3 separate regions of the Homo sapiens genome follow, and all the other regions are linked to region 3. Evidence: promoter capture Hi-C in 16 types of primary human blood cells and fetal thymus (Javierre and others, 2016). All regions are on one chromosome and are shown on one strand. Each heading gives the region's core, a stretch centred on a gene start or on the middle of the fragment in contact. The rest is flanking DNA. Distances are from core to core; before and after follow the strand shown.

What was found. Contacts are between HindIII fragments. The CHiCAGO score rates a contact against its expected background, and 5 or more counts as called.
Region 1: a fragment that was not itself captured here is called in contact with the fragment with the promoter of CRP in region 3 in 1 of 17 cell types (M2 macrophages); the score reaches 5.9 in M2 macrophages.
Region 2: a contact is called between a fragment that was not itself captured here and the fragment with the promoter of CRP in region 3, in 1 of 17 cell types (erythroblasts). The highest score is 5.3, in erythroblasts.

Annotation. Positions count from the first base shown.
Region 1 is chr1:159,157,654-159,160,851 of GRCh38, forward strand. No RefSeq gene overlaps it. Among named protein-coding and RNA genes, the nearest start is that of CADM3, 12 kb to the right of the region's middle. The HindIII fragment of the contact is 2,208 bases long and covers 409-2,616 here.
Region 2 is chr1:159,135,722-159,138,999 of GRCh38, forward strand. It overlaps a transcript of AIM2 not described here. Among named protein-coding and RNA genes, the nearest start is that of TRR-TCT4-1, 4.3 kb to the right of the region's middle. The HindIII fragment of the contact is 4,258 bases long and covers 1-3,278 here.
Region 3 is chr1:159,712,921-159,716,311 of GRCh38, forward strand. CRP (C-reactive protein) reads right to left here and starts at 1,669. Exons shown (of 2, transcript NM_000567.3): 1 at 1,505-1,669; 2 at 1-1,218. The coding sequence starts at 1,565. The coding sequence ends at 605. The HindIII fragment of the contact is 4,063 bases long and covers 1-2,569 here.

The DNA.
Region 1 (3,198 bases), core at 263-2,762, 560 kb before region 3:
CAATGTAATCTAACAAAATTGTTACAAATTGATTATGTCTCCTGCAAATTTAGATGTTAACACTCTAATCCCTCATGTATTTAGATGTGAGTCCTATGAGAGGTGATTTGGTCATGAAGGTGGAACTCTAATAAATGGAATTAGTGTCATTATAAGAAGAGACACAGGGAGACAATCTCTTTTTCCACCATGTGAAGACACATTGAGAAGGTGGCTGTCTGCAAACCACGAAGAGGACACTCAACAGGAATCAAATCCACCAGTACCTTGATCTTGGACTTCCCAGCCTCCAGAACTGTGAGAAACCAAAGTCTGTTGTTTAAGCCACATAGTTTATGGTATTCTGTTTTAGCAGCCTCAAGTAAGACACTAATCCTCCTTCATTCCAAAATACTAAACCCCACAAAAAGCTTCTCCTAATTCCACTATTTCTTTTCATGGTTCAGCATTTTCCAAGTCACTCAAAAGCCAAAACTGAGAGCTGCCTCAGCCTTCTCCCTCTGTCTTGCTTCCCATAACCAACACCAAACGTAGCACCTCTTTTCCATTCCCAATTCCACTGCCCTTGCTCAGGACTCTTTTACTTTGTTCCTGGATTTCTATAATCATCTTTTAACTCATATTCTTAGAATAAGCATTTAATTTAAAAAAAATTAATCATTCAATACATAGGCACACATTATAAAAATATGAAGTATATAATATGGACAATTATAGTCCCCCTTATGACTTAAGTCTCACTCCTGGCCCAGAAAATAATTTTCCAAGTTTAATATGCATCTGAACAATAGAAACACTCAAGTGCCTACTATGTGCCAGGCGCTATTTAAAGCAATTTAAATAGATTAATTTATTTAATTTTCACATCATACCACCCTAGGGGTCATGTAAAATTATCTCTATTTTCCACACAATGAAAAAAAATGCTGAGGCGGTTAAGTATCTTGCCTGAAGTCACACAGCCAGTAAGTAACTATTCATTTACTTAAACACATATTTATATGCATATAAGATTTTACATACACATATGTATATGTTTTATGCTTTTTTCCCATTTTACACAAAAGGGATAGCAGTATGTGTATTTTCTTTGTATTTTCACTGAACAACATACCTTCTGTATCTTTCTATGTTGGTAGATATAAATTTACCTCATTCTTTTTAACTGCAATGTGTTATTACAAAGTATGATATAGCATAATCTATTTATCCAATTCACTATTGATGAATATTTATGTTGTCTTCAATTTTTCACTACTGGAAAAAAATGATGTGATGCATATCTCTGCACATAAATCAGAGCACTCATGTGTGAACAGATCTATAGCATAATTTGTAGAAATAGCACTGCTGGTATTTCTATTTTTAATTCTGATGCATTCTGCCAAAATATCTCCAAAAAGGCTGTGCCAATTTACATCCTCCCTAACAATATATAAAGGTGCCTATTTCCCTAAGCACTTGCCAACACTGAGTATTATCCATCATTTTAATTTTTTAACAATCTGATGGGTTCTTTGATGCTTTTTAACAGTCTAGGATCTCTTTGGTGCTATAACTTGTATTTCTCAAAATCCAAATGCCGTTGATCATCTTTTCAAATGTTTATTAGACAACTGTATTTTTTTTCTGAGAATTCATACTCATATCCTTTGCCCAATTTTCTCTTGGACTGTTTGTCTTTTTTATGTTTATTTGCTGACTATTTTGCATGTTAGCAATTTTGATACTTTGGCATATATATTGCAAATAAAATCTTCCCAGTCTGTGACTTACTTTTACATTTTGTCTATGGGTCTGCAATTATATCAGTTTTAAAAATTATGCAGTAAATCTTATCGGTCCTTTCCTTTATCGACTCTAGGTGTTGTGTCTTGCTTAGGAAGGTCTTTCCCACTCTAAGATTAAGTATATTTTTCGACAGTTTTTGCAAACATTTTTAGTGTTGTTTGGTTTATAAAATTTAGCACAAGTCCACCTGAAATATATTGTCGTATATGGCATAAGGAAAGGCTAAACCTATCCCATACCAACTGACAAACAGATAACCAATTATTCTAATGTCTTTAAACAGTACAACCCTCTAGTCACTGATTAGAAGTGTAGTATATAATGAAGGTAGCACTCTTCATACACTAAATTTCCAAGTTGGTTTGTAACTACACTCTCTCTTCTGCTCCATGGTTCTATTTATGTATTCCTGTGCCAAGATTTCATGTTTTAATTGCTATAATTTTAAAGTTGCTTAGGATAGCTAGAAAATCATCCTCCCCCTTAGCCCCATGTGTTTAAAAAATTATGGCTATTTACTCTTGACTTTATCTTCCAAGGGAATGTTAGAATAGGCTAGTCAAGTTCCATAAAATATCTTATTGGAATTTAGCATAGTATTGCATCAAATTTATAAATTAAAAATTACCATCTTTACCACAATGAATCTTAGAATTAATATTTAAATACCAATTCAACAACATAACGTCCTGCTACAATTTTTTTTCCAACTGACATTGGGATAAAGATAAAGCTCTTCAGTGTCTAGTTTTCAAATCCCACCTCCCAAATTTGGTTTAAACTAGCCATCTCATCAAATTGATTTCCCTTATTTTTCATCCACAAAGCTTTTCAAACCAGTATACTGATTCTATCCTAAATAATCCTTCATTCCCTGTGCTAGAGATGCCATGCAATTAGGAAAGGGATAAAGCAGTTATATTCTTTGTCTACACATCCTCACTTTGAAGTGCTAACATTCTGGGTCTATCCAAGATCCATCATTACCCTTTAACAAGGCAAGAATAGGTATACTTTTCCTTATTAACTTAAACAGATTTGAGTTTGCAGGGGGAAAAATAGAGCTTTTTATGATTAAATAATCTACGACAATACAGTCATCCCTCAGTATCTGCTGGGGATTGGCTGCAGGACGCCCACACCCTTGCCACAGGATACCAAAATCTGCACATACTCAAGATCTACAATTGACCCTGTGAAAACAGCGGAACCAGCAGAACCAGGAAACTGGCATATAGAAAAAGTCTGCCCTCCCTATCTGCAGTTTGCCCATCCGGAGAATATTGTTTGGTTGCAGATATGGAGCCTGGAGATACAGAGGGCAAACTGTATTTATTGAAAAAAAAATCCATGTATAAGTGGATCCACACAGTTCAAATCCATGTTGTTCAAGGGTCAACTTGTTTT
Region 2 (3,278 bases), core at 48-2,547, 580 kb before region 3:
GATGTAGCAAAGGAAGACAAGTTATCAGCAATTGTTAGTGATTGCCAGAAGATGCTCCCTTCAGATTCAGGACTGAGCTGGGTCCACAGCAAGGAATTCACCCAGAAAAAGATTTGTCCTGGAATACAACAGCCAAGCCCTCGTCTCCTGTCTCTTCCCAGCTCCCCAGGCATTTGTTTTTAGTCTAATTCCATCTCTGTAGACACCAACCTGCCTTCTCAAAATAGACACACTCGCCCTCATCCCAGGCTTTAAAGCCCGGCATTGCCCCACGCAGAGAAGTCCTAACACGACCCTTTCCACGGGGACTAGAATCTGAGGATTGTTGTAGGACTTCTCTGCTCGTAGCCCTAGAGAAAAATCTAGGCCTTTTACAGTGATCACTATGGGCAGAACGTACTCTTGGAGGGTAACTACTATTTAAAATACATTATGCATGTCTTGACTTCCACTAGGACTCCGCTTGAAGAAGAAGATGGTTAGAAACATGGGCCACAGATAAAATCTCTCAAGTCCTCACGCACAGCCTCCAAGAAACTAGCTTGATCCATACAATCTGAAGGTTTAGAAAGAATAACTACAAACAAGGAGGTTAGCATTTGTGTTTGCACCTCCTATGTATCTACCTCGACAATTTTACAGCTTACCCTATTTAATTCTAGGTATTAGTTAGATCATTTACTAGATGAGAAAATCAAGGGACTTAGACTTAGTGCATGTCTACATTCATACAAGTAAATAGCGAGACCTCAGATTCAGACTCAGATCTGTGTCATTACCATGAAGTTGCTGCTTCTACTATGCTCATGGTTATCAACTTCCCTTATCATAATACGCCATTTCTCACCATTCATTCTCTCAAAAGAATCATCACTGAACAATATTACCACCATGGAAGCAAAGAGATCCAACTAACTTCCAAGGAGCACATAGTTCAAAGATATTCTATTCCATTATAATTTATAGCAAGTACTAAGGACATAAACACTGCAATCATGTTTTCTGGGATAAGGTCTATTTGCTACAGCTTTACATATAAGCAAAATGAACATTTTTACCATTAGGTAATAACTATTGTAATGACAATAAATAAAAATAACTAGTTTAAAAATAAGTGATCTCGGCCAGGTAAGCTCTCCAGAGATGATAAATCACTTTTGTAGGTGGACTGTTACAAAACCCTCCACCTCTGGTGGTACAGCACTACGGCTTGGGAATCACCGTGCCACAGCTTGCTGCTTCTAAAGGCTTTGGGCCCAGGAGACCTCTAAACCTGCCTACATATCTGACTCTATTCTCTACCTGTCTATTCTATCTCTGTCTGTTCTCTACCAACAGATAAAATTTGCCTTTTAACATAGAAACCAGAACCTCCACTCAAACTCATCAGTGGTGCTCACTAACATTTAGAAAAGCCTCACCTCCAAGCCTTATGTCAGTGATTGCCAGTGGCACTAGAATTGCCCCTCAGAAGTGGTTTGAAAATTTGATGGAATAGTTTTTGTTGTTATAATGATTGGGGGCCACGGTTAGCTGTAGAGAGGAAGAGCATGCTGGACTTAAGAGTCCCAGAATGTGTAAGGGCATCTCTCACAAAGAGGAATTGACCCATGATGTATACTCCTGAATGACCTATTAAAACCTACGTGCTGGGGCTGGGCGTGGTGGCTCACACCTGTAATCCCAGCACTTTGGGAGGCTGAGGCGGGTGGATCACTTGATCTAAGGAGTTCAAGACCAGCCTGGCCAACATGGTGAAACCCCATCTCTACTAAAAATACAAAAATTAGCCGGGCATGTTGGTGCGCGTCTGTACTCCCAGCTACTCAGGAGGCTGAGGCAGGAGAATGGCTTGAACCCAGGAGGTGGAGGTTGCAGTGAGCTGAGATCATGCCACTGCACTCCAGCCTGGGTGACAGAGCGAGACTCCATCTCAAACAAACGAACAAAAATAAAACCTATGTGTTGGTATCTGAGCTTAGAGTCTAACTTGTTTTTATATGTTAGAGAGTTTTCTGCATGATTTAAAACTTCCTAAATTTTCCAGGAATGCAAAGTACTGCGCATTTTGCAAGAAGACTTACTTTGCTTTGATCAAAAATGTATCCAAAAGTGTTCACCAGTCTGGAAAACCAGGACGCTGCTGGTGAACGACATCCCTCATGAGATTTAAGTCAGCAGTGCAGCATGCCTGCACTGGTCTGCATATGTAGCTGTTGCGTTCAGGGTGGGTCTTCATATAGGTGCAAGGGTGCTGGTATGGCATTTATGTACTAAAATGTATACTATTTATTATAAGTTTATTTCTTTTTATTCCTCTCTTACATTACAATTAGGGTATTATATTGATTAGTTTTCATTATGGGCATGGGAAAGTTATGTTATCTATGAATTTCATTGCAGGTTAGTAGAGAAGAATTGAAGAAATAATGGACCTAACAAGGCAGAGTTGGATGTCATAGGGTTGAGAACATTGTCCTAGATGGTGTGCCCTGTATCAAACTCTAATCCCAACTCTTCCCATCACTCCCTCCCACTCCACCACACTGACCTGTCAGCTTTCCAATCAGGCTGGTGCCCACATCAGAGTCTCTGCTCTTGCTGTTTCTCTGTTTGAAATGCCCATCCCCTAAATCTCATTGCCCTCACTTCACTCAGGTCTTCACTCAAAAGCCACCTCCTCTGAGAGGTCTTCCACAACCATCATTCATCACATCACTCTCCATCCCCAAGCATCCTTTAAATTCCTCCATAGTACATATCACTACCTAAAATGCTATTAGCTATTATAATATTTATTTACCTGTCTGTCATTTGTCTTCATCATGGGAATATGTATTCCATGAAGAAGGTGGAATCTACTATTTTGGTGCCTGGAATAATGGGAAGTGGCATGAAGTGGGTGCTTGATGAATATTTGTTAAATAAGTGAATTAATGCCTGAAGATACTGTCTGTGCTCCTGCTCCCTGGAAGCTAGGAGTAATCTCTTTCTCTTTCCTATCTATATAATTTATAGTCAATTGAAGTCAGCATTAATTCTTTCAAATATATCCATCAAATGCCTACCATATTTCAGGCACTGAGAATACAATAATAAATAACACATATCCTGCCCGCATACTTTTCAATTAATGATCAGCTCCAGCATCTCTGAAGTATTTGAGTCCTACAGTGAAGTGACTTCATAAAAAACACACCCATTTCTATTTTACATTCTGAGTATCTTTAAAATACAGTAATTATGATATTCATAAATTAGGAGATATCCCTTATGTA
Region 3 (3,391 bases), core at 419-2,918:
GTGTGCTTTGAGAAAGTGGAGGGACTGCGTGGTATTGCTGGGCTTCCCATTTCAGGAGACCTGGGCCCAGCAGTTCTATGACATGATGATGAGCACTCTGGACCCAAACCAGACACCTGGCCAGTGTCCTGATTCTGAGACTGAAGAGCCCTGTGAATGTGGGCAATGCCCTCCTGCTTTCTGGGGGTCATGGGTGGGGAATTAAATAGAAGATCAGCGCTTCCTTCTCAGCTCTTGCCTTATGAGTTTTTTATAACATCATTTCTCCTTTCTGGGTGTTAGTTTTCTCATCTATGTGAGGTAAGAAATTATCTCCAAGATCTGTCCAACTTGAAATAAAAATGAAAACAAAACACCTCAAATTCTGATTCTTTTGGACCGTTTCCCAGCATAGTTAACGAGCTCCCAGACCAGACACTTTACCTCCATTCTCAGGCGCTGAGGAGGGTGGAGCAGGCCTGCAATGCATATAGGGGAACAAAGGCCCAGAGACAGAGACGTGGGAACCATGCAGTGTAAAAAAGCGGGAGGTACCAGAGACAGAGACGTGGGGCCCATGCGGTGTAAAAAACCGGGAGGTACCTTCAGGACCCACAGCTGGGCCTCAGGGCCACAGCTGGGGTTTGGTGAACACTTCGCCTTGCACTTCATACTTCAGTGCCCGCCAGTTCAGGACATTAGGACTGAAGGGCCCGCCAAGATAGATGGTGTTAATCTCATCTGGTGACAGCACAAAGTCCCACATGTTCACATTTCCAATGTCTCCCACCAGGGACTGGCTTCCTTCAAAGTTCCCACCGAAGGAATCCTGCTCCTGCCCCAAGATGATGCTTGCTTCTGCCCCCACAGTGTATCCCTTCTTCAGACTCTTCCTCACCCTGGGCTTCCCATCTACCCAGAACTCCACGATCCCTGAGGCGGACTCCCAGCTTGTACAAATGTGTACTGGAGCTACTGTGACTTCAGGAACCTCGAATAATATTTCAGACCCACCCACTGTAAAACTGTATCCTATATCCTTAGACCAAAATATGAGAATCTCATTGTCTTGTCTCTTGGTGGCATACGAGAAAATACTGTACCCACGGGTCGAGGACAGTTCCGTGTAGAAGTGGAGGCACACAGTGAAGGCTTTGAGAGGCTTCGTTAACGGTGCTTTGAGGGATACATAGGAAGTATCCGACTCTTTGGGAAACACAAAAGCCTTCCTCGACATGTCTGTGAGCCAGAAAAACAAGCAAATGTGAGAGGTTTCTCAGATCACACAGATCTATCCCCTCACTTACGTATAGAATTTAAGATTGAGAAACAGACTGACCCCTTCTCCAGTTACACACCACACACACACACACACACACACACACACACACACACACCATGAAGGATGCTCCACTGTTCTGTTCATACAGTCTTTTTTTTTTTTTTTTGAGACTGTTCATGCAGTCTTAGACCCCACCCCCATACCTCAGATCAAATCTCTCCCATAGCCTGGGGTGGCCCTTACCTGTCTGGCCAAAAGCATGAGAGAGGCTGGTCAAGACCAAGAAACACAACAGCTTCTCCATGGTCACGTCCTGCTGCCAGTGATACAAGGGCCTGAATTCACTCCTTTGGAAAAGATGTATTCGGCTGAAAGTTCAGGGGCTAGAAGTCCTAGATCTCTTGCCTTAGAGCTACCTCCTCCTGCCTGGATTTATATCCAAAGCAGTAAGGGAGTTTGCGCCACTATGTAAATAATTTTCCAACATTGCTTGTTGGGGCAGGTGTCAGAGCTTCGGGAAGAGGGGAAGCAAAATTATTTCAGAACAGAGAAATCAATGTGAGTTATTTATTACAAACTCCTATGACTACTGAATTACCAATTCTTTATGACAGGAAAAATGAAGAAATCTCTCAGGGCTCCACTTTGGCTATCTATCCTGCGAAAATAATGGGAAATGGTAACATATTAAACGAGTGGCCATCTGGGTGCACGTGGTAGCTGCCTCTCCAACACCTACTTCAGCCCAAATCATAGAGTTTGACAAAGGAAATCTGACAGCTTCTGGAGATGGACATTATCACTAACCCCTTTCAATTTGCTTATTTACAGACTGGGAAATGAGGAAAACAAACATGCTCCTCCCAGAGCCATGGACACATTTTTTTATTATTATTATACTTTAAGTTTTAGGGTACATGTGCACAATGTGCAGGTTAGTTACATATGTATACATGTGCCATGCTGGTGTGCTGCACCCATTAACTCATCATTTAGCATTAGGTATATCTTCTAATGCTATCCCTCCCCCCTCCCCCCACCCCACAACAGTCCCCAGAGTGTGATGTTCCCCTTCCTGTGTCCAAGTATTCTCATTGTTCAATTCCCATCTATGAGTGAGAACACGCGGTGTTTGGTTTTTTGCATGGACACATTTTCTCAGCCAATTGAGTACACTTATTAAGAACTCTCTAGACATCTTGGCACTAAATGACGGCCCTGACAGTAAAAGTCCAGTAAAATGTGTGCCTGATCACAGACATAGCATTATATCAAAGTTTCTTCCAACATTTTTCTCTGAATATGTAAAGCTTCAGGCAGGAGTCAGGATAATCTGATTCTACTCTTTCCTCTATTCACAAGATTCAAGTAATCCCTCCACACTGTCTGTCAATCTTACTACAGTTCCCTACTTAACTCACTCTTCAAAATGACTATTATACTCCTTCTCCTTGCTCCTCAAGTCCCCAAAATCTCATTTATTCTTTCATTCAGCTGATGAACTCACCTTTCATTGAGAAGTTAGAAGCAATCAGAAAAGAACCACCGTATCCTTTGTAGTAGAGTCTTCTAGCCATTCCCTAACATCCATTCTCTACTTCTCATAAGAGAAGAATAACATTTTCAGTTGGGCGCTTGGTCATCCCCTCAAACACCAAATTTCCCAGCCCCCACTGTAGCTTGCAGTGATGATGTGATTAAATTAAGGCCAACGAGATATGAACAGAATAGGGACCATCTCTAGGTTGTGCTCTTTAAGAAAGGTATGTGCTTTCCCCTCCCACTTCCCCCTTTTTCCCTTTGACTAGTATTCAGTCATGATAGCAGGAGATGGAATAGTTCACTTTCAGGCCAGCAAGTGTAAGCTGCATGTTGAGGTTGGCATGGCAACAAGATAGATGGAGCCTGGATAATTGGGTATGGAGCCACTGCATCAGCTCTAGGCTGCCTACCTGAAAATTTACTTAAAGGAGAAATACTCTCCTCTTTTGTTAAATCACTGTTAACTCAGTCTTTCTGTTCTTAACACCTAACTGATATCCTTATATATCCTCCTACAACCCAATGTACCAGCCTTTCTGTCTTCCTCTATTAAAAGGGATGAGCTCTCCCTGTGTTACATCTAAGGCC